Regions from separate parts of the Homo sapiens genome. Here regions 2, 3, 4, 5, 6 and 7 are each linked to region 1. Evidence: promoter capture Hi-C in 16 types of primary human blood cells and fetal thymus (Javierre and others, 2016). All regions are on one chromosome and are shown on one strand. The core of a region is centred on a gene start or on the middle of the fragment in contact, and the rest is flanking DNA. Distances in the headings are between cores, read along the strand shown.

The links. Contacts are between HindIII fragments. The CHiCAGO score rates a contact against its expected background, and 5 or more counts as called.
Region 2: a contact is called between a fragment that was not itself captured here and the fragment with the promoter of STX17 in region 1, in 1 of 17 cell types (fetal thymus). The highest score is 6.0, in fetal thymus.
Region 3: a contact is called between the fragment with the promoter of TGFBR1 here and the fragment with the promoter of STX17 in region 1, in 1 of 17 cell types (fetal thymus). The highest score is 8.3, in fetal thymus.
Region 4: a fragment that was not itself captured here is called in contact with the fragment with the promoter of STX17 in region 1 in 2 of 17 cell types (fetal thymus and M2 macrophages); the score reaches 6.3 in fetal thymus.
Region 5: a fragment that was not itself captured here is called in contact with the fragment with the promoter of STX17 in region 1 in 1 of 17 cell types (fetal thymus); the score reaches 6.2 in fetal thymus.
Region 6: a fragment that was not itself captured here is called in contact with the fragment with the promoter of STX17 in region 1 in 4 of 17 cell types (M1 macrophages, total B cells, naive B cells and 1 more); the score reaches 9.5 in M1 macrophages.
Region 7: a contact is called between a fragment that was not itself captured here and the fragment with the promoter of STX17 in region 1, in 1 of 17 cell types (total B cells). The highest score is 5.3, in total B cells.

The regions. Positions count from the first base shown.
Region 1 is chr9:99,905,057-99,908,209 of GRCh38, forward strand. STX17 (syntaxin 17) reads left to right here and starts at 1,598. Exons shown (of 8, transcript NM_017919.3): 1 at 1,598-1,650. STX17-DT (STX17 divergent transcript) reads right to left here and starts at 1,545. Exons shown (of 3, transcript NR_038853.1): 1 at 1,498-1,545. RefSeq lists a silencer at 1,337-1,736 and an enhancer at 1,897-2,136. The HindIII fragment of the contact is 1,410 bases long and covers 429-1,838 here.
Region 2 is chr9:99,000,564-99,003,716 of GRCh38, forward strand. COL15A1 (collagen type XV alpha 1 chain) reads left to right here. Exons shown (of 42, transcript NM_001855.5): 7 at 276-388; 8 at 2,890-3,024. Among named protein-coding and RNA genes, the nearest start is that of COL15A1-AS1, 57 kb to the left of the region's middle. The HindIII fragment of the contact is 1,710 bases long and covers 607-2,316 here.
Region 3 is chr9:99,103,501-99,106,653 of GRCh38, forward strand. TGFBR1 (transforming growth factor beta receptor 1) reads left to right here and starts at 1,613. Exons shown (of 9, transcript NM_004612.4): 1 at 1,613-1,802. The coding sequence starts at 1,706. RefSeq lists silencers at 1,141-1,740, 1,831-2,340. The HindIII fragment of the contact is 12,693 bases long and covers 1-3,153 here.
Region 4 is chr9:99,122,246-99,125,398 of GRCh38, forward strand. The region is part of intron 1 of TGFBR1 (transforming growth factor beta receptor 1); the gene reads left to right. Among named protein-coding and RNA genes, the nearest start is that of TGFBR1, 19 kb to the left of the region's middle. The HindIII fragment of the contact is 795 bases long and covers 1,057-1,851 here.
Region 5 is chr9:99,139,511-99,142,663 of GRCh38, forward strand. TGFBR1 (transforming growth factor beta receptor 1) reads left to right here. Exons shown (of 9, transcript NM_004612.4): 5 at 3,026-3,153. Among named protein-coding and RNA genes, the nearest start is that of TGFBR1, 36 kb to the left of the region's middle. The HindIII fragment of the contact is 1,247 bases long and covers 1,281-2,527 here.
Region 6 is chr9:99,174,188-99,177,340 of GRCh38, forward strand. No RefSeq gene overlaps it. Among named protein-coding and RNA genes, the nearest start is that of ALG2, 46 kb to the right of the region's middle. The HindIII fragment of the contact is 4,738 bases long and covers 1-3,153 here.
Region 7 is chr9:99,191,858-99,195,010 of GRCh38, forward strand. No RefSeq gene overlaps it. Among named protein-coding and RNA genes, the nearest start is that of ALG2, 29 kb to the right of the region's middle. The HindIII fragment of the contact is 3,582 bases long and covers 1-3,153 here.

The sequences.
Region 1 (3,153 bases), core at 348-2,847:
AGGTTTTGGTCGGGCATGGTGGCTCACACCTGTAATCCCAGTACTTTGGGAGGCCGAGGCGGGCGGATCACGAGGTCAGGAGATCAAGACCATCCTGGCTAACATGGTGAAACTCTGTCTCTATTAAAAATACAAAAAATTAGCCGGGCATGTTGGCACACGCCTGTAGTCCCAGCTACTCAGGAGGCTGACACAGGATAATCGCTTGAATCTGGGAGGTGGAGGTTGCAGTGAGCTGAGATCATGCCACTGCACTCCAGCCTGGGCGAAAGAGCAAGACTCTGTCTAAAAAAAAAAAAAAAAAAAAAATGTTTATCCTACTACTTTGACACACCTAACTTACAGCAAACATACATATAACAACTTAGAAGTCCAGGTCCAAATTTAGAATCTTTGAGTACCACACCTCCTGATTTTGTACCTGAGGAAGCTTTTTCAGAACTTAACACAAATGATCTTTTATTTCAAAAGATCTTATTTCACTGATCCTTGCATAAAAAACATTTTCTCACAGTATTGCCTAATACTTTAATTTTTCTCCTTAGAATCAAAATTTGATAAATACATTCTGGAGCTCATTGTAAAACAAATATCAGTATACATTATGTCCCCAAAGAAAATCCAAATTGCTTGGTAGATTTGGTGCTTTGTTTTAGAAATTGTCTTTCAAGGCTTTTTAAAGGATCTACAGGCCCCTAATCTTCCCTGTTTACCTCCTACTCTACTGGAAGACCCTAAGAACTCAGTTTCCTTAACTGTGGTTTGAACATCCTGATCACTTCTGAGACAATGCCATTAGTGAATACATTCTAAGCACGTCATCTGAATATTCACAGACATCTTTTTAAAAGGGCTGGATCTGGAAGTTAGGCCATGAAGAGAGGAGGACCTGTGACTTGGACAAGGCTTCAAAGCCGGCCACCTGCTTGTTCATGTGGTTGCAGCTGGTCTAACTGGAATAACTTGGGAAGGAAATTAGGACACCCAGTTGGAGTTCCAGCTCTGCCATAAGCTGGCTGAACTGGAGTGAGTCACTTAAAACTCTTTGTTAAACCCCAGAGTCATAATCTATAAAATCGGGATAAAGACGTTTGCCTTAAGCCCTCCACCAGTTTTTGGAGGAAACCACAATTTGCTGAGCTTTAATTTTTACACCTGTTGCAATTAAGATGGCACTCCTGCCCTGTCCACTTCACAGGGCTTTTGGGGACGGGATGGGGAGGCACCACCTTTCTGAGCTTCAGTTTCAAAACAGAGCTAAGAATACATGCCCAACCCGCAAATAAAATTCTAGGAAGAACAGAGGAAAACGGACAGGAAAACTGCGAAATGCAGTCGGCCATACAAGCATGAATTGTCTTAAACACAACAAGCAGACCTAAAGAGCGTTTGTGCGTCTCTCTCCTCTTGGCTCGAGTCACAACCCCATAACGTAAATCAATATCACTTTTGAAAAAGGCTTTCGCTGTTCTCAGCAGCGTCCGCATTTGTACTCACCTGTGCGCCCCCAGCGCCCGGCCTGGGGGCCCTGCGGGGCGGGGGCGGGGGCGGGGGCGGGGCCCAACCCTGCCCACCCCTCGTGATGCCCCGCCCCGTCGCTCCTGCGCCTGCGCCGTGCCCACCGACCGGCCTCGAGCGCCCCGGCGGGAGGTAAGGGGCTCTCTGGAGGCCGCCTTTGGGGGCGTCGGGCCCTCACAGGCTTGGTGGGCCTGGCGCCCGTGTGGCGCGCGCAAGAGGCGCTGGGCGGCAAGTAGGGCATTGGATCCGAAGTGCGAGCGCCATGGTGGCTCCTCCTGTTTTTCAGAAGTGGCGGAGCCTCGCTTGGTTTCGTTTTTGGAAGCTTTATTGGAAGCTGGTATAGGGAGGCCGCAGACGATGCGAGCAGGACGGCCTCCCGGGGTCGCGGGGTGGAAAAGTTTCCGGCGCGCGTCCTGTCTCTGGCGCGCTGTAGGCCCCGGGTCGCCAGGGTCGCTGGCGTCTGGGTCCCGGGACAGACCCGCGCATCCGTTCGCTGGTGGGGGCGTTTGGTGTGTGTGGCCCAGGTGTGCTGTGGGTGACACTGCGAGGAATGACGCGACGCTCGATGGTAGTGAGGCTCGGAGGACTGGGAGCGAGAGGCCGGAAGCCCCTGCTCGCCAAACCCAGAGGTGGTTGGCAGAAGGTCCCACACCTTGGCTCCCTCCTTTTAGCTAACCGAGGTTCAGAGAGGAGACTTTACTTTGACTTTTCTCTCCAAATTCGGTATCTCTTCCATAAGTCAGAAACATTAAGCGGCGGGCCGGAAGAAATCGGGCGCCACTAGTATCCTGAAAAGTGGGAGCTCTGGGCCGATGGAAGGTGTTCGTCACTTTTGGGGGCTGGGTTTCCTGAGAAATGGGGTCTTTCACTTATTAATAACCTCCTAAGTAACTTACTGGGAAACATGAGTATTATGGTACCCATCTCATATTAGTTGTAAGCACTACATGATAAAGTTTGTAAAGCACCTGGCACAGTCCTGGCACCCCTCTCTCCAAGTATTAATGCAGTGAATACGATGGCAGTTCTTTGACTTCTAAATGTTTTTACCTGTCTTACGTGAAACATCCTCTTATACTAAAAAACTTTTTTATTTTGAAATAATTTTAAAATTACAGAAAAGTTTCAAAAGTAATACAGAGTTCCCTATTGCCTCCATTAATAATTTTTTACATACCATAGCGCAATTATCAAAAGCAAGAAGTTAATATTAGTATAATACTATTAACTGAATTACTAACTTGTGATTTTTTTTCCTGTATTAATGTCCTTTTTCTATTCTAGGATCCACTCTAAGACCCGACATTGCAGTTAGTTGTCTTGGGTCCTTGGTCTCCTCCAGTCTGTGACAGTTCCTCTGTCTTTTCCTGTCTTTACACTGATAGTCTTTTTCTGTCTTTATACTCTTTCTGATCTTTACACTTTTGAAGAATGCTGGTCAGTTATTTTGTAGAGTGCCCCTCAAATGGGGTTTGTCCAGTGTTCTCTCATGATTAGATTAAGGTTATACATTTTTGTTAAGAACACAAAAGTGTGTGTGCCCTTCTCAGTTCATCATATGAGCATAGCTGATATATATGACTTATTGCTCGTGAGGTTAATCTTGATCACTTGGTAGAGAGTGTCTGCTGGGAT
Region 2 (3,153 bases), core at 212-2,711, 900 kb before region 1:
CAACCCTATGAGGTAGGAATTATTGTAATTCCCCATTTCTAGATAAGGAACTTGAGGCAGAAGTTGAGCGACTTGCCTGCAGGTGGTGCCAGAGCCTGGAATGGAAACCACACATGCTTTGCCATGTATGTTGTTCTGCAACTTGTTTTTTCCCCCTCTTGACCCTGTGTCATGGTATCTGAACATCTTTCCAAGTTAGCTGGTGAAGAGATACCTCATTCTTTTCCAAGACTGCAAAATGTAGTTATTGATAGCAGAATGCCTGCTTCCTGTAGGGTCTGGTGAGATCCTGAATGACACACTGGAGGGGGTTCATTCTGTGGATGGTGACCCCATTACTGACAGCGGCTCAGGGGCTGGGGCCTTCCTTGACATTGCTGAAGAAAAGGTGAGTAGATGGTAAATTTCATTTGATTAGTCAGTAGTAGGCTTGTTTGCTTATTTCAAACTTGGTGATGATTTTACTGAGCACCAGAGAGAACCACAAGGGTTTTGGTTGAATAGCATCAAGATTGCTTCTGTCCTCATGGTACAGAGGAGGTCAGAGTCCCAGGGCCACAGAGGCTCTCCAGGGATGCACAGGACTGGTGGGGGATATGCAGTGCAAGCTTGTCCTCACACTTGCCTGTGATGAGCGAGCGTCCAGGCCTCACCAATGCAACCCCGCCCTCCTGCTCAGTTGTGAAGGCACATAGCTTTATCAGCCCTTTGAGTCCCCTTCAAGACAGAATCAGATTAACTGCAGGTGTGTTCATGCTATTGTTTGGTAATTGGCTTTTACACCTGCAAAGCCAGTTTTTGAAATGCTGGGCTCCCTAGGGTGCAAAATTAAAGCATAAATAGTTTTCTCACAATGGCCCCTGCTGAAAACCCACAACGCCAGCTCATTCCTTCCCTTCTCCTGGGATGAAAACTTAAGACAGTTCTCACAGCTCTCTCAGTCACTATCTGGTAACAGTCAATTTTCACAGATATTTAAAAGTCAAGCCCAGCATAATATCAAAAATTCAACAAAATTACAAACACAGTTTCCCCCCTTCTATACTCAGGCCTACTGTAGACTAGGAAACTGCCAGGAAAGGGAAGCATGGTTAGGGGTTTCCTCTCTATTTTCTTACTTCTCTCTCCTCCTTATCCTCATGATCTCCCCATCCTCTAGAGCTATTTTTAACATCTGCAGGGGCTGGCCCACCTGGAGAAATGGACACAGTTGTACTTGGCTGGTCAAATTGTGATCTGGGCTTTTGGTGTGGAAGATGCCTGATTGTTGGAACTCTCTCTTATGGGGGCTTTTGTGGTTCCTGGGAGGTCTTCCTGCAGGGGACCTAGGATCAAAATTCCATAGTTTGCCTTGTAACTTCTGCCCGGGCTTCCACCCCATACAGGTTGCCCAGATCTTCTGCGTGGCTCTTTGAGTACAGCCCATTTCAGCCAGCTCCCTTTGGAGAGATTTTATCTTGTCTATCTCCAGCAAAACAACTGCAGGACAAATACCCCTCCCTTCTCCATCCCCCTCCCCTCCTCTCCCCTTTCCCTCTCACCTCCTCCTTCCCTCCTCTCTCCTTTTATTCCCTCCCTTCCTCTCCTCTCCTCTCCTCTCCCCTTTTCTCCCCTCCCCTCCTCTTCCCACTTCCCTCCTTTTCTCTTTCTCCCTCACCTCCCCCTCCTCTCCTCTCCCCTTCCCCTCTCTTCCTTTGTCCCTCTCTCCCAACTCTGAATCTAAAGGGCTCCCTCCTTTCACCTTTTGTCTCCCTGGAGAAAATCAGACACCAGTCCCTGAGCCTCCCAAATTCCAGGAAATACATACCCAGCTCACCAAATGGTTTGGAGTGAGTAGAGGGGAGGAGAAGAACCGCAGTACACTGAAAATTCTTTCCAAAGGAATTCTTGCTCTCCAGGCACTCAACCCCAAAATGAGTCCTGTATGGTTTCTTACACAGCCTAGAGGTAGGAGATGGGCAGGAGCTGGTAGAACGGGTGCCATTTCCTTGTTTTAGCATGGGGAGATTACCTGATGCCTGTGAAATTGCACTTGCCCTTTGGGGCTTTAGCTGACGCTGAGTTAGAAAGAGTCTCATTTTAACATCCTGGGACCTCAACTTTCCTCTAACTGTTTTTTGAGACAGTAATTCTGCAAGGATTTAATATATTTTATGAAAAAGGGGCTCTGTGGTCAAATGACTTTGGGAAATGCTGCACTCTACATTCCTCTTTTTATAGATTCTGAGAAATCCTGCAGCAAGGAAATCTTTTTAACTTTGATTAGCCTGGTGTTTTTTGTAACCAAAAGAACCACATTTTTGCAATAAATAAACAAGCTTTGGGAAATGAAGATAGAACATAGTTTGCTGTCACCAGCCCCAAAGCTGCTCTCTCTTTCCATTTCTCCCATTGCTATGAAACCTTCAGAGAATCTGCCTGTGCATTCCCAAAGGAAACTGAGTCACAGGGAGAGAGAAGAAGCAGGAATGTCTCTGTCTCCCAGCCTAGAGAAGGCTGAGGAGGACAGAGGTGCTGCCTACACATTTCTGAAGCATCTTCATGGGCAAAGACATTGTCTAATGCCTTCTGGATGGGTACATGGGGAGGTCACAGGGAGGCAATGGGTTTCAGTAGAAGTATCTAGAGCTAGACCAGGCTGACTCAGGAGCAGTGATTTCCGTGTTAATGGAGGTGCAAACCAATACTGGGAATCAAACACCAGACATAGGTGCCTGGGCAGTCTTTCCCATCCCTGGATTTATGAAACCATAGATGTGAAAGTCCTTGAGAGAAAGAAGCTACAGAAATGCAGGTGGCTGGAGAAGGCTAGGCAGTCTGTTCTCACCAGCCACAGGCATGTTGATGGGAGCCCAGAGACATGGTCTCTTGTGATGCCTTTGTTTTCAGAATTTAGCAGCAACAGCAGCGGGGCTGGCCGAGGTGCCCATCAGCACTGCTGGAGAAGCAGAGGCCAGCAGTGTGCCCACCGGGGGACCAACCCTCTCTATGTCCACGGAGAACCCAGAGGAAGGGGTCACTCCAGTAAGTAGCTCAGAGCGCAAGCTCCCCTTCACCTGTGTCTGGGGTTGTGGGTTGTGTTGGGTGGGAGCAGTCACTGGCTTTCCCTATGTGTCTGTGAAACACAGTGACAGTCTCATGGGGGCAGTCTGT
Region 3 (3,153 bases), core at 363-2,862, 800 kb before region 1:
TAGAGCAGCAAAAAGGCAGTCTAGGGACCTCAGGTGGCACAAAGTCCACCAAATCTCCATTGAAGAAACTGGAACTGAGAGGGCAAATTGGGACTGGAGCCTGCCAGAAGCCATCTCTCTGGAATCCCTCAGCCTGAGCAAGAGGGGAGTTTGCTGCTGAGGCTGCTGGAGCTGCGGTGTAGAGCAAGTTGCAGGCCTCTGAGCCTGTTGGAGGTTCAGAAAGGTTAGCTGACTTGCTTAAGTAAGTGTCCTAGACAGGAGGGAGAAAGCGCGCGGGTCTCAGATCCCAGCTCCAATATCCACGCCTTTTCCCTTTTCATCTCCCGGAAGGAAGCCTTCACAGGTGGGGAAAATGCTCACCCAGTGACTCTAAAGTAGTGCACAAATTGGCATTAATCAGAACCATTCTGATTCCTGCTATCAAGGTTTATTTAATTCTAAGCTCAAATGACACAGAAAATAAAATTTCCTCCTTAAAAGGTTCTGCGGAAAAATATTCTCTGTTCTACGTAACAGCCTCCTTGGCTGTGTTTGTGTCTGAAGAAAGGACTAGTCTGACAGGAAGAATTACAAATCTGGAGCTCATTTTGGCGTCGCAGAGGGAAGGTGGGTGGAGCGTCTCGCAGTAAATTAGGAATTCAGAATGAAAACGTAGAGTTTATTTGGGTTTTTAGTGACACCTCAGGATTATTATACAGCAGTGTCAGACACAGCTCAAAGTAATGATGACTGCTCCCCCTCCGCCCCGCGGGAGCTGGGTGCTAAGAAGGGGGAACCCCTCCTTTGAGGGGTTGGGGTGGGGATCCTCCCTTTCCAACCTGGATCGGGAAGGGGTTTGAGAGGAGTGCGGCTTGGATCCCCATCCTGGATCTGTGCTGGAGGGAGGCGGGAGGCTATTTGGGGGTGTGTTTGGGCTCAGGATCTGGGTCTGACGCTGGGATCTGAGGACTTTCTGGGTTTGGAACTGGGTGGGGGAGCTGGGTTTGGGGTGACCGCTGGGAGCAGGAGGAAATAGGAGAGTGAGTCGCATGTGAAGGGCACTGAGGAGGGATCTTCGGGGGAATGCTGAAGTTGATGCGTGGACTTGGAGAGGGGAAGTTGAAGTGGATGCAGGGGCCTGGCGCTGCAGCGGATCTGGGTGGCATGTGCTGGGATTGCCAATGCGGAGCTGTGAATGGGGTCAGGGTGGGGCTGAGGCAGTACCAGATCTTCCGCGCCTAGAGGAGGTTAGAAGAAAAGAGCGTCGAACGGCCACAGCCTTTTTCCGAAAGAGACTCACACAGACACACCCATCGCTCTACCCGGCCCTCCGGGGCTAGCGGCTGAGCGGTGCTGGGGCTGGCAGACCCCGCCCCCACGCGGCCTCTCGGAGCCGGGAGCCGATCGGGCCGGGGCTGGGGTCTGGCGGCCCAGCCCCCGGGGAGCGTGGGGCGTGGCCAGAAACCGGCGCTCGCGGCTGCGGATTGGCTGCCTGGCGGGCCCGCAGGCGGGGCTCCCGGCTGGGTCCCGCTTGGCAGCTCGCGGCGGCGGGGAGGCGGGGCCGGCGGGAGCCCGGCAGCCAATGGACGCGCGTCCTCCGAGCAGTTACAAAGGGCCGGAGCGAGGCCGCCGCGGCGGCTAGGGAGGTGGGGCGAGGCGAGGTTTGCTGGGGTGAGGCAGCGGCGCGGCCGGGCCGGGCCGGGCCACAGGCGGTGGCGGCGGGACCATGGAGGCGGCGGTCGCTGCTCCGCGTCCCCGGCTGCTCCTCCTCGTGCTGGCGGCGGCGGCGGCGGCGGCGGCGGCGCTGCTCCCGGGGGCGACGGGTGAGCGGCGGCGCGGCGGGCGGGCGACTGCGGGGCGCGCGGGCCGGACCCGGCCTCTGGCTCGCTCCTGCTCTTTCTCAAACATGGCGCGGGGCCGGGGGCGCAGGTGGCGGCGCCGGGGCCCGGGCCGGGCTCTCGTGGCGCCGCGCGGCTCGGCGGCTGCCGGGCGAACCGCAAGCGGGGAGCGGAGGCGGGGCAGGGGCGTGTGTCCGGGCGCGGGCGGACGTGTCCGGCTGCCCGAGGCCGCCCCGCTCGGGACTCCCCGGGGAGGTGGAGTCGGGCGGAGTCGTCCGAGGTCCGGGGCTGCCCTCTGGGGTGTGAGTGGGCGAGGGCCAGGGGCGGAGAGTGCGAGGCCGGCGGGGACTGGCAGAGCCGTGGCTGCCCGCCGCCGCCCCCTGGGCACGGCGTGACCTTGTTCTGGGGACCCCCGCCCCAAGAGGGTCCGTGCCAGAGGCTGCCGAACCCGGGGCGGGGTTTGAGGTTGGGGTGGAAGGCGGCTCCCGGGCGGGGTGTGAGCTCCGAGCCTCTAGGGCTTCGTCCAGTGGGAGTCGGGGGCGACGTGTGGTGAGACCCCTGGGTCCGCAGGCCGCCCTGACTCCCGCCCGGCTCGACCCGAGCCGACCCTGCTGGAAGGGGCTGCTCCTCCAGCCAGGGGGGCTTTGTGTGAGAAGAAGGAAGCGCGGAGATGCGCGGAATGTTTCTTCTTTCGTGCGTCTGGGGAGTGTTGAAGTGAGTCCAGTAACCAGACGGCTACGGATTGTTTTCATAGTGGAAACTTGAACGTTTGCTCATTCTGCGGGTTTTGGAAATTTTGGGAACGACTGTGAATTGATTAAACGCTTTTTATTTCCTCGAAGGAACATCACTCACGTTGTTCCTTTTCTTGAGTGACAGTTAATAGTTTGATTCAGACATCTGTATAGCTGGTTTTCAAGGAAGACTGTTGGCTGGATTTTTCAAAATAGTAAATCAGGTTGGGGTAGGTGGTTGGTATCCACAAAGGGATGAGTGAAAAACTTCGTTAGCAGCTGAACTGAGACACTAGAAGCTAAAATACACAGCCTCAGTGTTAGCAACTAAAATGCAGTGAAAGTACATTTCTGTTTCTGAAACTGGACAAAAGATGTTGAAATTTTTTTAAAAAATCAAGACTGACGGTGACGATTATAATCAGTCCTAATAGCTACCGTCTATGTATTGTGCATTACTACGATGTAAATGCATACACTATTGTATAATTACATTATTTAATCACCACAAGTAAACTCCCAGGAGTAGTGGCATTTGCCCCACTTTACAGATGTGCAAAGTGGGGTACAGACACGTTAAGTACCCAATAACTTAAGTGCTA
Region 4 (3,153 bases), core at 204-2,703, 780 kb before region 1:
GACACACTAAGCCTGGGAAGACAAGGTTTCGGTGCTAATTTTTATTTCTTTAACAAGGGTGATAGAAATATCTGTTCCATATATTAATACTATACACAACTGTTTACCTCTCAGCTTTTCTAGCAAGACATATGGGCTTGTGAATTAACCCTGGGTAGCCCTGGCATTAGATAGAATTAATAGTGCTTCCATATGTGACCTCGAGACGTACTGAAATGAGGCAACCAAGGAAATCCTTTATATTGGGACCAAGAGCCAAGATCTCAACTTGGGATATGTTACCCCGAGAGTTGTTACCCCGATACTATAATACCATGAATAATAACCCCAAGGGTCCTGTTGTCTCTTTTTCCTCATGTCACTTCCTTTGGTACTAACTGTCACCATGCTAACATCTGCAAACTTTGAAAATTCTGATTTATTCTGCAATATTTGGAAATTTCACTGCTAGTAATTGTATTTCCTGGCATGGTTCTGATATAATTTTCTGTGTACACAGTAGCTTTTCCTTTTAGTGCTGAATCACACTGAAATCCTTGTTTAACCTAAGTTATAGTTGCAAGGGAGCTATCAAGACAAATAATTACAGTGATGGTGAAGTGAATACAAGTCAAACATCCCAATCTGAAATTCAAAACCTTTTGAGCACACCAACATGATGCCACAAGTGGAAAATTCTGCACATAAGTACTTAACATGACCTTTGTTTCATGCTCAAAATTATTTCAAATATTATATTAAATTACCTTCAGACTATATATATAAAGCATATATGAAACATGAATGAATTTTATACTTAGACTTGGGTCCCATTCCCAAGATGTCTCATTATGTATATGCAAATATTCCAAAATCTGAAAAAAATCCCAAATCCAAAACACTTCTGGTCCTGAGCATTTTGCATGAGGGATACTCAACTTGTAATCTTTTCTATGTATAGCCAAGTTTGCACATACATAGGTTACAACAACCCATCATGTCTTAACCTTTCAGTCTGGAGGCTGGAGTTTTCTTTTTACTTTGATTGTAAATTGTATTCAGATTTTAGAAATGTAAAGCTTAGAGAAATGTGCATCTCAAGATTAAGAAAGCTATGCCCACTGTTAAAGACTGGGGCATGGAAACAAAGTTGGACAGTGTAGTAGAAAGGTCCTAAACAGGGGATTTGGTTCTTATTTTTGCTATCAAGCAGAAGAGTCAAAACTGTAGGAGTCTAAACCAAATCAGGTCCACCTGGGAGTCTTTAAAGTTCAGGGTTACTTAGCATGGGGATAGTGGTATAGCAAATAGTTGCGTAGGTTTCACTCGTGGGCTGGTGATAATATAGTGAGGATTCACATCCGCCTGTAATCTGGGTAGAATATTTGTATAAATCATTTTGGTTTTTTGGTTTTCTTTTTAAAATTTTTAAAATTGTTTTGCTTTTCTTAAGTTTTGGTTTCTACATTAATAAAATGACAGAACTGAATTGCCTAGATGATATTCAAAGTTTCATGTGGTTCTGTTAGTCTGGGATTCTACAGTGGAATTTTGTCACTACTTTTGGGAAGAAGTTTACCTTTGGTGGCCTACGAATAAAAACCACATTGGCACAATGCCATTTATCATATGGGATAATTCTGTGTGTTTATATAATCATTTATGTTCGTTTCCAAATGTGTTAATAAAGTACAGTATCTCATTTGATTAGCTCAGATGATGAAATAGGTCAGAGAGGTATTATGTTTATTTTCCTGATGAAATAAAACATCGTAGTTAGCATCTTGAACAATTTAAATTTGATCATCTTACTTGGTATGCCAGCCACTAAGGATGAAATCCTGCCACTGAGAAAGAAAACCCAGTCAGGAAAGCTTTCTCACCCTTATCTATCTAACAAATTGTACATATTCTCCAAGTTCTGACTTGAATGCTGGTGAAGCTTTTCTTGATAATCTCTTCTACCGCAGCAGAGTAGAAACACTTTGATCATTCTTCTCAGGACTCAGGATTTTAATTATCTGTTTAATGCCTTTCCCTTCCACCCTAGTGAACTACTCAAGTGCAAATACCTTGTCTTACTCATCTCTGCACCTCATAGCCCACACTGTACCTGGCATATAGAGATGCTTAGTGAATAATTGCAGAATTAAATGAAAGAGTCAAGGTGATGTGTTGCAGAGTGAGGAGAACTTGGGCTTTGGGCTGGCGGAAGGAGGTGTCTTCGTTTACGTTTTTTAGATTGAAATTTTGCCATGTATATGCGTTTAAAAATTTAAAACCTAGTTGAATAAAAGGTTGGGGGGGGCAGTATCCAGGGGCCAAATCTATCTATTAATAAAATAAATTTGAATTTTTTAAAAAAATGGCAATTAAAACTCATGTTCATGGAAAAAATTAAGTTCTTATTTTAGTTTTTCCCTAAACGATCTTGCCGTATCACATAACAGCAGTCTTGTAGTCAATCAAGACTGACTTCAAGTGGTGAAATGGAATTTTTTAATTCCCTGAAGAGAGAAATCTTTACCTAGTTAAGCTTTGTGTTATCTTGATGTTTTTATTTGTCTAGTGACCTCTTCTGATTGAAAGAGTAGTTAAGAAAAACCCTTTAGTACTGACTTTTTCAAATTTACCGTAATGTAATGACCTCTTTGAAAGGAGAAGTACAGAGTGTATTTTTCATAATGTTACTTAAATTCTGTAGACATGAAACTAGATATAAAACCCTTATGTTCTTGGCTCATACACCACTATAAACCAAATCTGCAAATTAAATACAAAGACAACTACAAAAAAAAACAAAATTCAAATGAATACAATTATTCCATGTGACAGATGATGTTTAGGTTTTGCAGTAGAAAAAAATAGCTTTAGGTCTAATTCCATTTTAAATGTGTTTCTGTATTTTAACTTCAGTGATAATAAAAGCTGTGAGTAGTGCCTCTTCTCATCAGTAATGTTATGCAGGAGGGCATTAATGACTTCAAGGCCTTGTTGGTAAGTTCAGGATGAGACATCATACCTAACCAAAACACTTGACAGCAAGCATTCCTCAAATACAGGCTTATAAGTTTTACTGAGATGTCATCCATTTTGTTCATTGGAAGATAAGGTTAATATCTTGACATTATTGAAATCTTCATTAAATGATTTTCTAAACCAGTTATTGCTGGA
Region 5 (3,153 bases), core at 654-3,153, 770 kb before region 1:
TGCCAATCATAATTGATGTCTGATCCCACCTACTCTGCCCTAACTGTGTTATTTGAAGCTGGTCCCAGACAATATGTTTTCATCTGTAAACACTTATAAAATGTAATTTGTATCTTCAAATGATGAGGAAATGTTTTTATGAAACAACCACACTACCATTGTCAGTTTTTTAAATGTTATCAAATATCCAGTTAGGTTCAATTCTATAATTGTCTCCTATTAAAAAAATTATTTATTCAAATTATGATTCTAAGTCCACAAGTTATATTTAGTTGATATTTCTCTTATGTGTCTTAAAATTTAGGTCCCCCCTTCATCTTTTTTCTCCTCTCGCAGCTTATTTGTTGAAGAAATTGGATTGTTTATCCTGAAGGGCCTATCACATTCTGGATTTTGCTGATTGCATTTCCATAGTGTCTCTTAACTTGTTCTTCTATCTTTTCTGAAAACTGGTAGTTAGATTTAGAAGCTAAACCTAATTGGAGTTTTATTGGTTTTCTCAAAATACATACTAAGGATATTATATACATCCTATTGCATCATATGTGGAGGTGTATAGTGTTTGATTAAGACGGGGCAGTGAGGTATATGATGAATGTAGGTAGCGATTATCAGTGGCACCTGACAATGTAATACCTCTTAAGTTAAAAACAAAACAGGCCGGGCACAGTGGCTCACGCCTGTAATCCCAGCACTTTGGGAAGCCAAGGTGGGTGGATCACGAGGTCAAGAGTTCAAGACCAGCCTGGCTGGCCAAGATGATGAAACCCCATCTCTACTAAAAATACAAAAAAATTAGCCAGGCATGATGGCAGGTGCCTATAATCCCAGCTACTTGGGAAGCTAAGGCAGAGAATTGCTTGAACCTGGGAGGTGGAGGTTGCAGTCAGAGCTGAGATCGCACCACTGCACTCCAGCCTGGGCGACACAGGGAGACTCTGTCTCAAAAAAAAAACAACAACAAAACAAAACAAAACAAAAAATAGTAATCAGTCTGACCAAATCCTTAGTTCTCATTTTCGTTTCTGCCTTTATCACCATTTATTTCCTCCCCCAACTCTTAAAACAACCTTTTCTTTATTTACTGTGTTTGATGACCCTAGACTTTCCTTGTTCCTTCTTACTTCTTCATAGTTGTCTTTGTTTTCTCAACTCTTACTCTTCTCACTGGTTCATATGAAGGTACTGATTTTATAAGTGGTAATTTCTTCCTTAAGAACATAGCCACATTCATGGTTTCAAACTCTACCATGTTGGCAACTCTCAAATCTCCATTTGAAAGCTTAAACCTCACCCAGGGTCTGGATTTTGTCACATTCCAAGTTACAAACACAGCAGCACAAAATGTTGGTGAGTCTGTGCCCTGAACTTCTAACCAGGCTGATGCTGTCATCTGGTGGTCACCATGGGAACTAGCTGACCCTACTGGCTCTTCCCTACTCCCCTTCTTTCTTCTTTGTCAGGGGTTAATGTACTTTCTCTGAGCCTAGCCCCTCCACCTCAGTTCCTTTATCTTCTCCTGATTTAGTTAATTCCACCCCCGGCAGCCCTTTATATTTATGGCCCCTTACATATAACCTTCCTTCTATCTTGTCCATAACCTGTGGTTTCCCTTTCTTCCATCTGCCTGTCTTCCACTTTGTTTCTTGTATTTGTGAGCTTTTCAAAATTCAGTAATGGTTAAGAGGCATGCAAATAAGCTAGTGATGTGCCTATATCAAGGAAAAGCAAGGGTGCGAGTTTGGTCAGAATCAGTTTATAAAGTTCATGAAGAACAAATTAATACTAAGTCCTTTTAAATGTACCCAGAAATCTCCTCCAGAATCTTCTGAAAAGTTTCTATTCCTTTCTTAATCTCTTCTAATCAGAGTTGGTTTTCTTCTTCAACCAAATACCTTCAAAATAGAAGCTGTTTCATGTCAATATGGATTTTTTCTTTTGGTTTACAACCAGCAGGGAAAGAAAGAGCACAGTTTATGTACTTCTTACCTAAAGAATCTAGCATTCCGTTTTTTAAATCTTAACAGTCTTACAAAGTAAGACTTTATTCTTGTATAAAAGGAGAAACAGGCTCCTTGTCAGTAACAGGCAGGCCGTGGATTCCAACCAGGTTAGAATGACTCTAAGCGTCCATCTTTTACTGGATTGTGCTGTCTCCTAATGTTGTAATGCTTTTTTTCTTCATGGCTTAATTAAGCATGTGGTTTTCCAGCTACTTCTAGGTTAAATTAGATTGTCGTGGACCAGTCTAGCTTAGGAGCCTAGCTAGTGTCTTTACCATTATTCCTATGAGAAAACATGTTTTAAACTCGTGTTTTGGCTTACAGAGGAAATTTTGGAACCCACGTTCCTCGTTGTTTGAGTTTAGTCCCAGCTTTTCCAGTTTTGCTCCTGACATTTCAGTTCCTATTTCAGCTTCCCCATGTGTTAGAGGTATCACTATTTCTGTTTTTCTAAGCTAGCAACCTTGGAATCATAATCATCTTGTCTTGCGTCTTTGTGAACTGTGTACACAATCTGTCACTAAAGCTTGTCATTTCTTGTTGAAACTCACTTTCAGTTTTGTCCCATACTCTTCCATTCCCACTGTGGCCACACTGGTCTCCGGAGACTTCTCACCTCCTTGCTTCCCTCTCTGTTCCTTCCTTTTTTTTAACCTTCTCTCCTTCCAGGAACAGCCACTGAGCACCCAACCCGACCCAGAGATTTTTCTAGGCACTTAAGAGTGCCAGCTCTGATACCAATTATCTGTGAAGACTCAAAAAAGTCACCATCTTTGTCTCTTAAATGGGATTAATTATACTTGCCTTATCTCAAGAAGAGGGGCTTACTCTGAGGAACTAAAGGATGTGTACATAAAAGTATAAAACAAACAATGTAGAAGAAAATGTGAAGGAAATACAGACTTAAGGTGGCATTATATTGCAGTGTGTGACTCAGGATTGAGAGTAAAAAGTAATAACCATTGAACAAATAAATCATAAATGGTCTGCAGCCCAACCGAAATGTTAATTCTGTTTTACAGACAATGGTACTTGGACTCAGCTCTGGTTGGTGTCAGATTATCATGAGCATGGATCCCTTTTTGATTACTTAAACAGATACACAGTTACTGTGGAAGGAATGATAAAACTTGCTCTGTCCACGGCGAGC
Region 6 (3,153 bases), core at 415-2,914, 730 kb before region 1:
CTCTCATTTATAGCCCCTTTTCCTTTGCTTTTTAGAACAAAACCATGTCCAGAAAAATCTTTTTATGCTAGGCAATAACCCTTACTATGAACTCACTGTTCTGAACAAGTGAGTCATTTTGCACATTGGGGGAATACCCCTCAGTGTAGAAAATTATGTTTGCTGGCTCTCTTGGAGGCCTGCAGCCCCTCACGGCCTCAACGTGCTCCCCTTGTTCTATCTCCTGTTTTATCTCCACTGCTTTGGGCAGCCCTTCCAAATAGTTTTCATCCTGGAGTTTAGGTTGTCTCTACATTTCAATAGAAATTGTTGCTTTTGGATGATTTCCAGAAAAAAAAAATGGACATGCTGACATCTTGCCATGGGGTGACTTTATGGGAATTGGGGTGCCTCTGGGTGAAGGACAGTTTCAGATGATGGCTGCCATGCAAGGATGCAGCTTTTCTCAGAGCTGAGACAGGACCCAGCCAGAATGCTTGGTGTCTGATTCTAATGTCCTTGATCTTCAACTCTGCGTTAGAAGGCCTTCATTAGCCGTGCTAATAAAAGAAAAATAGAAAACACTGAAAAACTAACACAAAAAATTAAAATGGGCTGAGCGTGATGGCTCCCGCCTGTAATCCCAGCACTTTGGGAGGCTGAGGCAGGTGGATCACATGAGGTCAGGAGTTCGAGACCAGCCTGGCCAACATGGTGAAACCCCATCTCTACTAAAAATACAAAAAAAATTAGCAGGGTGTGATGGTGCATGCCTGTAATCCCAGCTACTTGGGAGGCTGAGGCAGGAGAATCACTTGAACCCGGGAGGCAGAGGTTGCAGTGAGCCGAGATCATGCCGTTTCACTCCAGCCTGAGCAACAAGAGTGAGACTCCATCTTAAAAAAAAAAAAAAAAAAAATTTAAAATGACCCATAACGTTTCCACCTAGTGAAAACTACTGTTAAAGGTGTAACATGGTAGATAAACACCTTCAGATTTTTCTCTATACATACATATGCACATACAAAAAGATGATCCTACTAGGCATATGATTCTGAAACTAGTTATTCTCAATTAGCACTATAGAATGAATATATTCCCATCAATAAACAGATTTATTTAATTTTTTTTTGAGGCAGAGTCTCGCTCTGTCTTCCAGGCTGGAGTGTATTCAATTTTTAATGGATCTATGATGGTCTAGTGTATGCATGGCATATGATTTATTTAATTGGTAACTTAGTGATGCACACTGCTTCTCATTTTTTAGCTTTCTAAACAATTCTTCACTGAATATCTTTGGCTGTATACCCCTGTCAACTTGCCTGAGTGTTTTCTCCTAAAGCAGGGTTTCTCAAGAGTGACAATAATTCTTATTCTGGGGGGATGTCCTGTGTACCATGAGATGGGTAACAGCCTCCCTGGCCTGCATCACTAGATGCCAGCAGCACCCCTTCCCCAACTTGCTGACAATCAATGTCTCTACATTGCCAAATGTCCCTTGGGCAGCACAGTTGCCCCTGCTTGAGAACCACTGCCCTAAGGATAAAGTTCTTAAGATAAAAGTTTAAAGAATATGCATATTTTAAGGTTTTTGTTATCTATTGCCAAATTACCTTCTCAGAATTGCACTGATTTATGACTTTATACTCCAAACAACAGTGTATAATAGCGCTCAATTTCACTACCCTTATGAATATGAACGTTAGCACTAAAAAAAGCCCAGCTCAAAACATTTTACCAATCTCAGAAAACAAAATGGGTTTTTTGTTTGTTTTTGTTTTGCTTTTTGAGACAGAGTCTTGCTCTGTTGCCCAGGCTAGAGTGCAGTGGCATGATCTTGGCTCACTGCAACCTCCCCCTTCCAGGTTCAAGTGACTCTCCTGCCTCAGCCTCCTGAGTAGCTGGGACTACAGGCGTGTGCCACCATGCCCAGCTAATTTTTGTATTTGTAGTAGAGCTGGAGTTTCACCACGTTGGCCAGGCTGGTCTTGAACTCCTGAGCTCAGGTGATCTGCCCACCTTGGCCTCCCAAAGTGCTGGGATTACAGGCATGAGGCACTGTGCCCGGCCAGAAAACAAAATACTATCTCACTGACTTTTAAAAATTACTAGAGTGAGACTGAACATGAAATGAAACTATGTTGATTATACAGATTAGCTATTGTTTCCACGGTGAATTATTTTTCCTTATAATTTACTATTTTTTCCTTTGGAATATTCATTTTTGTCTTATTTTTTCATGTCAGCTTTTAATATTATGAACAGAATGTACATATTTTTCCTAACTTGCTGTTTGTCTTTATGTGTTGAGATGTGTGGTCTTATTTGTTCAAAAATCCTAAGAGGGTTGTAAACAGGGCCAGGAAGAGAGTCCTCACACAGGTGTCTCTCTGGGGGCCCTGAATCGTGTCCCTGCCAGTGAGCCTCCAACCGGCTGGGTCTCTGTCTAGCAGAGGATCCTATGTGAGTCATGCTCTTTTTTATTAAAATCTGCTGAATGTTCCTTTTGTGTCTGAGTGAAAAGTTCTGGCTCTGAAAACTCAGTTGTCAGGGGAGCCTTGATCTGGGAAGACTGACCTGGGGCTCAACAATAATTAGTTCAGGTTAATTATTGGCAATCTGTAGATGTGCAGCATAGGAGCTTCTCTTCCCCTCGGCCTGGGCCTCTGGAGGTTTCTTTTATGAGCTCTGAACCCTGAGGGAGGACTTAAAGTAATGAATTTTCCTGTAATCAGATTTGAGGGTTTGTTCCCTGAGCCATCCAGTCAATTGGAGAATTGAGCACTGACTGGTTTATTTGGCTACGGGATGCAGGAGATGATGCACAGAGCATCTGATAAGCAACCCGGGGAGGAGAGTGAAGAAATGGCATGACATATTCAAGAAGTTGACCTCTGGGCTTGGAGGGAGCGGTTCTGTTTACAAGGGGGACATAGTGTCTGGGAGCTATTCAGAAGAGTGGGGTATTTTATTTTGAGTATCAGGGAGTAAGAGTTCTGCTTATCCTCGAGGGGAACCTTGTGAGATTCACCTTGAACTTCATTCCTATGACAGCAGTGCAGTTTGTACATGTTTATAAACACTTAATTTGTTCAGGTGAGCCACAGTGGCTCACTCCTAAAATCCCAGCACTTTTGGAGGTTGAAGTGGGAGAATTCCTTGAGGCCAGGAGTT
Region 7 (3,153 bases), core at 468-2,967, 710 kb before region 1:
ATGTTGCAGAGAAGACAGTTATTATTATTATTATTATTATTATTATTATTATTATTATTATAACATCTAAGTTGTAGTGGGTAATTGTTTACTTTACTTGCTATGACCTGAATGTCGGTGTCCCCCTAAAATTCATATATTGGAACTTAATTTCTAAGGTGATGGTATTAAGAGATGGAGCTTTTGGGAAGTGATTAGATCATAAGGACTCTGCCCTAATGGGTGGGATTGGTGCCCTTATAAAAGGGTTTTAAGGAGTGAGTTTACCCTCTTCTGCCCTTCCATCATGTAAAGGTACAGAGAAGGTATCATCTGTGAAGAACAGGACCTCATCAGACACTAGATCTGCTGGCACCTTGATCTTGGATTTCCCAGCCTCCAGAATTGTGAGCAATGAATTTCTGTTGTTTATAAATTACCCCGTCTAAAGTATTTTGTTATAGCAACAGGAATGAACTTAGATACCACTATACACACTCTGCTTGCACTGATGGTGCTTTGGAGGTTGAAGGAATTGGGTGTTCGATATGTGCTGAAGAGTTAAGGGAAAAGGGCAGTTGTTGCATGTTACTGGAATTGAAAAGTAGAAAAGCGAACATTTATGTGACTAAGAAAAATGGAAATCCCTTAGCCCTGAAGATCTTCAGTGATATTAGGAAGATTCTCTCTTTCCCATCACATATGGATTTAGGGTTAAAGTCACTCCACTTAAATATTATGGCAACAGAGAGGCGCTCAGGACCTGGAGACCTCCAAGCTGCTGCTGACTTTTGAGTTTCACAACGTTGAGAAGGTAGGGGGTATTATTTTCAATACATCTCTTCTAGAGAAGGATGAAATAAAATGTGTGTGTGTGTGTGTGTGTGTGTGTGTGTGTGTGTGTGTGTGTGTGTGTGTTGGGGGGTGATTCAGGAGAATCTGAAATAGGACAGCCTGATACTGAATTGATCATCATTGTTGCTGTAACAAATTAGCCACAATTAACACAATTAACTTTAGTGGCTTAAAAACAAGCCTCCACTGTGTTTGGAGGAAACTAGCAGGCAATGGGATTGGTTAGTATCCAAGATCATTGTTAAGTGTCAGAGCAGGCAAGAGCCCATCCCTGATGGAAGCCTGAAATGTGGGGTGAGAATGACTCATGGGAGAGTCAGTGACTCCTACTCTGCACTTTGGGTCAAAAAGTTGTATGTTGAACCGAATAATGGTCCCCTAAGGATGCCCATGTCCTAATCCCTGGAACCTATGAATGTTTCATTCCATGGTAAAAGTGACTTTGCAGATGCAACTAAATTAAGGATCTTGACATGGGGAGATTATCCTGAATTATTAATATCTGGGTGGGCGCAATATAATCACAGGAGTATTTATAAGAGGAAGACAGGAGTTGCAGGGAGGGGAGGCGATGGAAGCAGAGAACTGAGTCATGTAGCCATAGGCCAAGGAATACAGGCGGCCTCTAGGGGCTACAAGAGGCAAGAAACAGATTCTTTCTAGATCCTCTCTCAGAAGGAACCATCCTTGCCGACACCTTGATTTCAGCCTCAGAAGACTCATTGTAGGCATCTGACTCCCAGAACTGTAAGAGAATGCATGTTGTTTTAAGCCACTAAAGTTAATTGTGTTAATTGTTGCTAATTCTTTACAGCAACAATGAAAAACAAATACAAGCTGGAAGCAATATAATGGACCAACAATAGGGGACTATGTGACAGAAGCTGTTTTTGTAGAGGAACACACTTACGGGAAGTAGTGTAGAGTCTGAGGTTTTGAGGTGAGCAGATGTGGAGGTCTGAGTCCAGTTCTATCCTTTCTAGTGGTGTGATCATAAGCAAGTGACTTATCCTCTTTGAGCCTCAATTTCTTCATCTATAAAATGGGGATACCCACCTCATAGTCTTGTGAGGGCTAAACTGTGCCTGGTACACAGTAGGCACTCACTCAGTAGTAACGTCTATTACCATTATCATAGAAAAAAAATCTGAAAGGACCTAAAGCAATAGGAATAAGAGAAAAGTAATAAAAGGTGCGTTATAACAATTAAAGAATCTGGAAATGTTCAGAGTTTTATAAAGGTCTAATTCATTCTCAAACAATGAGCTACAGTCTCTTTGTAGCTCTGCCTCTTGGGTAATTTTTTTTATTACTTTTACTACTTTTATTTTTACAAGTTACTTGCAATTAAATGTTTTATCTTGCCAGTTCTTTTAAAAAAATTTTCAAAGTGTACAACATTTGTACTGTCTTCCGTTAAATTGCTTTTGCCCACGTGGTTTGCTCCCAAGGTTTTGAGGTGGTAGGGACTCTGAGTGAGGGCAGAAGGCACACAGGGAAAGAAAAAGGGAGCTTGGCCTCCTGCAGTCTGGAGGGACAGCCTGGGGCATCTGGGGACAGAGAGCAAGCACCCTTTCATCTGATACTTAACGCTGGGAGGAAAAAAGCAAGGTTAAACTGTGACTTTAAGCAAATCATGTTTACTTAAGTAATTCATTGTGGGTATTTTTTGAAAATGGCTTAAAACTATGTCTCTACTTAGTCATGCAGATATTAGCAGGTAAGGAGAACTTTATTTTTAATATTAATTCAACAGACATATTGAGCATCCACCATCGGCCAGGCAGATCAAAGAATGGATCTGGGAGGGAAGTAGTGAGTGGATGAAGAGAAACACAAAAGTGAGTAAATCAAGCTAACCAGTTTCCATAAGCCTATTATCTACTTTCACATTTTTCCATATTTACCTTATATCTCTATTTCTCTTTTTATTTTCAAAATAATTTGAAAGTAATTTTCAGACATCATGATTCTTCATCCCTATATATTTCAACGGAAATCTCTGCTATGGATTGAATTGTGTCCCCCTCAAATTCACACGTTGAAGCCCTAACCCCAAATGTGATATTTGGACATGGGGCACTTGGGGGTAATTAGGTTTAGATGAGGTCACAAGGGTGGAGCCCTCACAATGGGATTAGTGCCCTTGTAAGAAGAGATACCAGAGAGCTTTTGTGCTCTTTCTCTCTCTGTTGTGTGAGGACACAGTAAAAAGGCAAAGCTGTCTGCAAGCTGAGACTACAGCTTTCAGGAAGAGGGCCCTCACCCAAGTTCAACTATGCTGGCACCCTGACTTAGGACCTCCAGTTCCTAGAACTG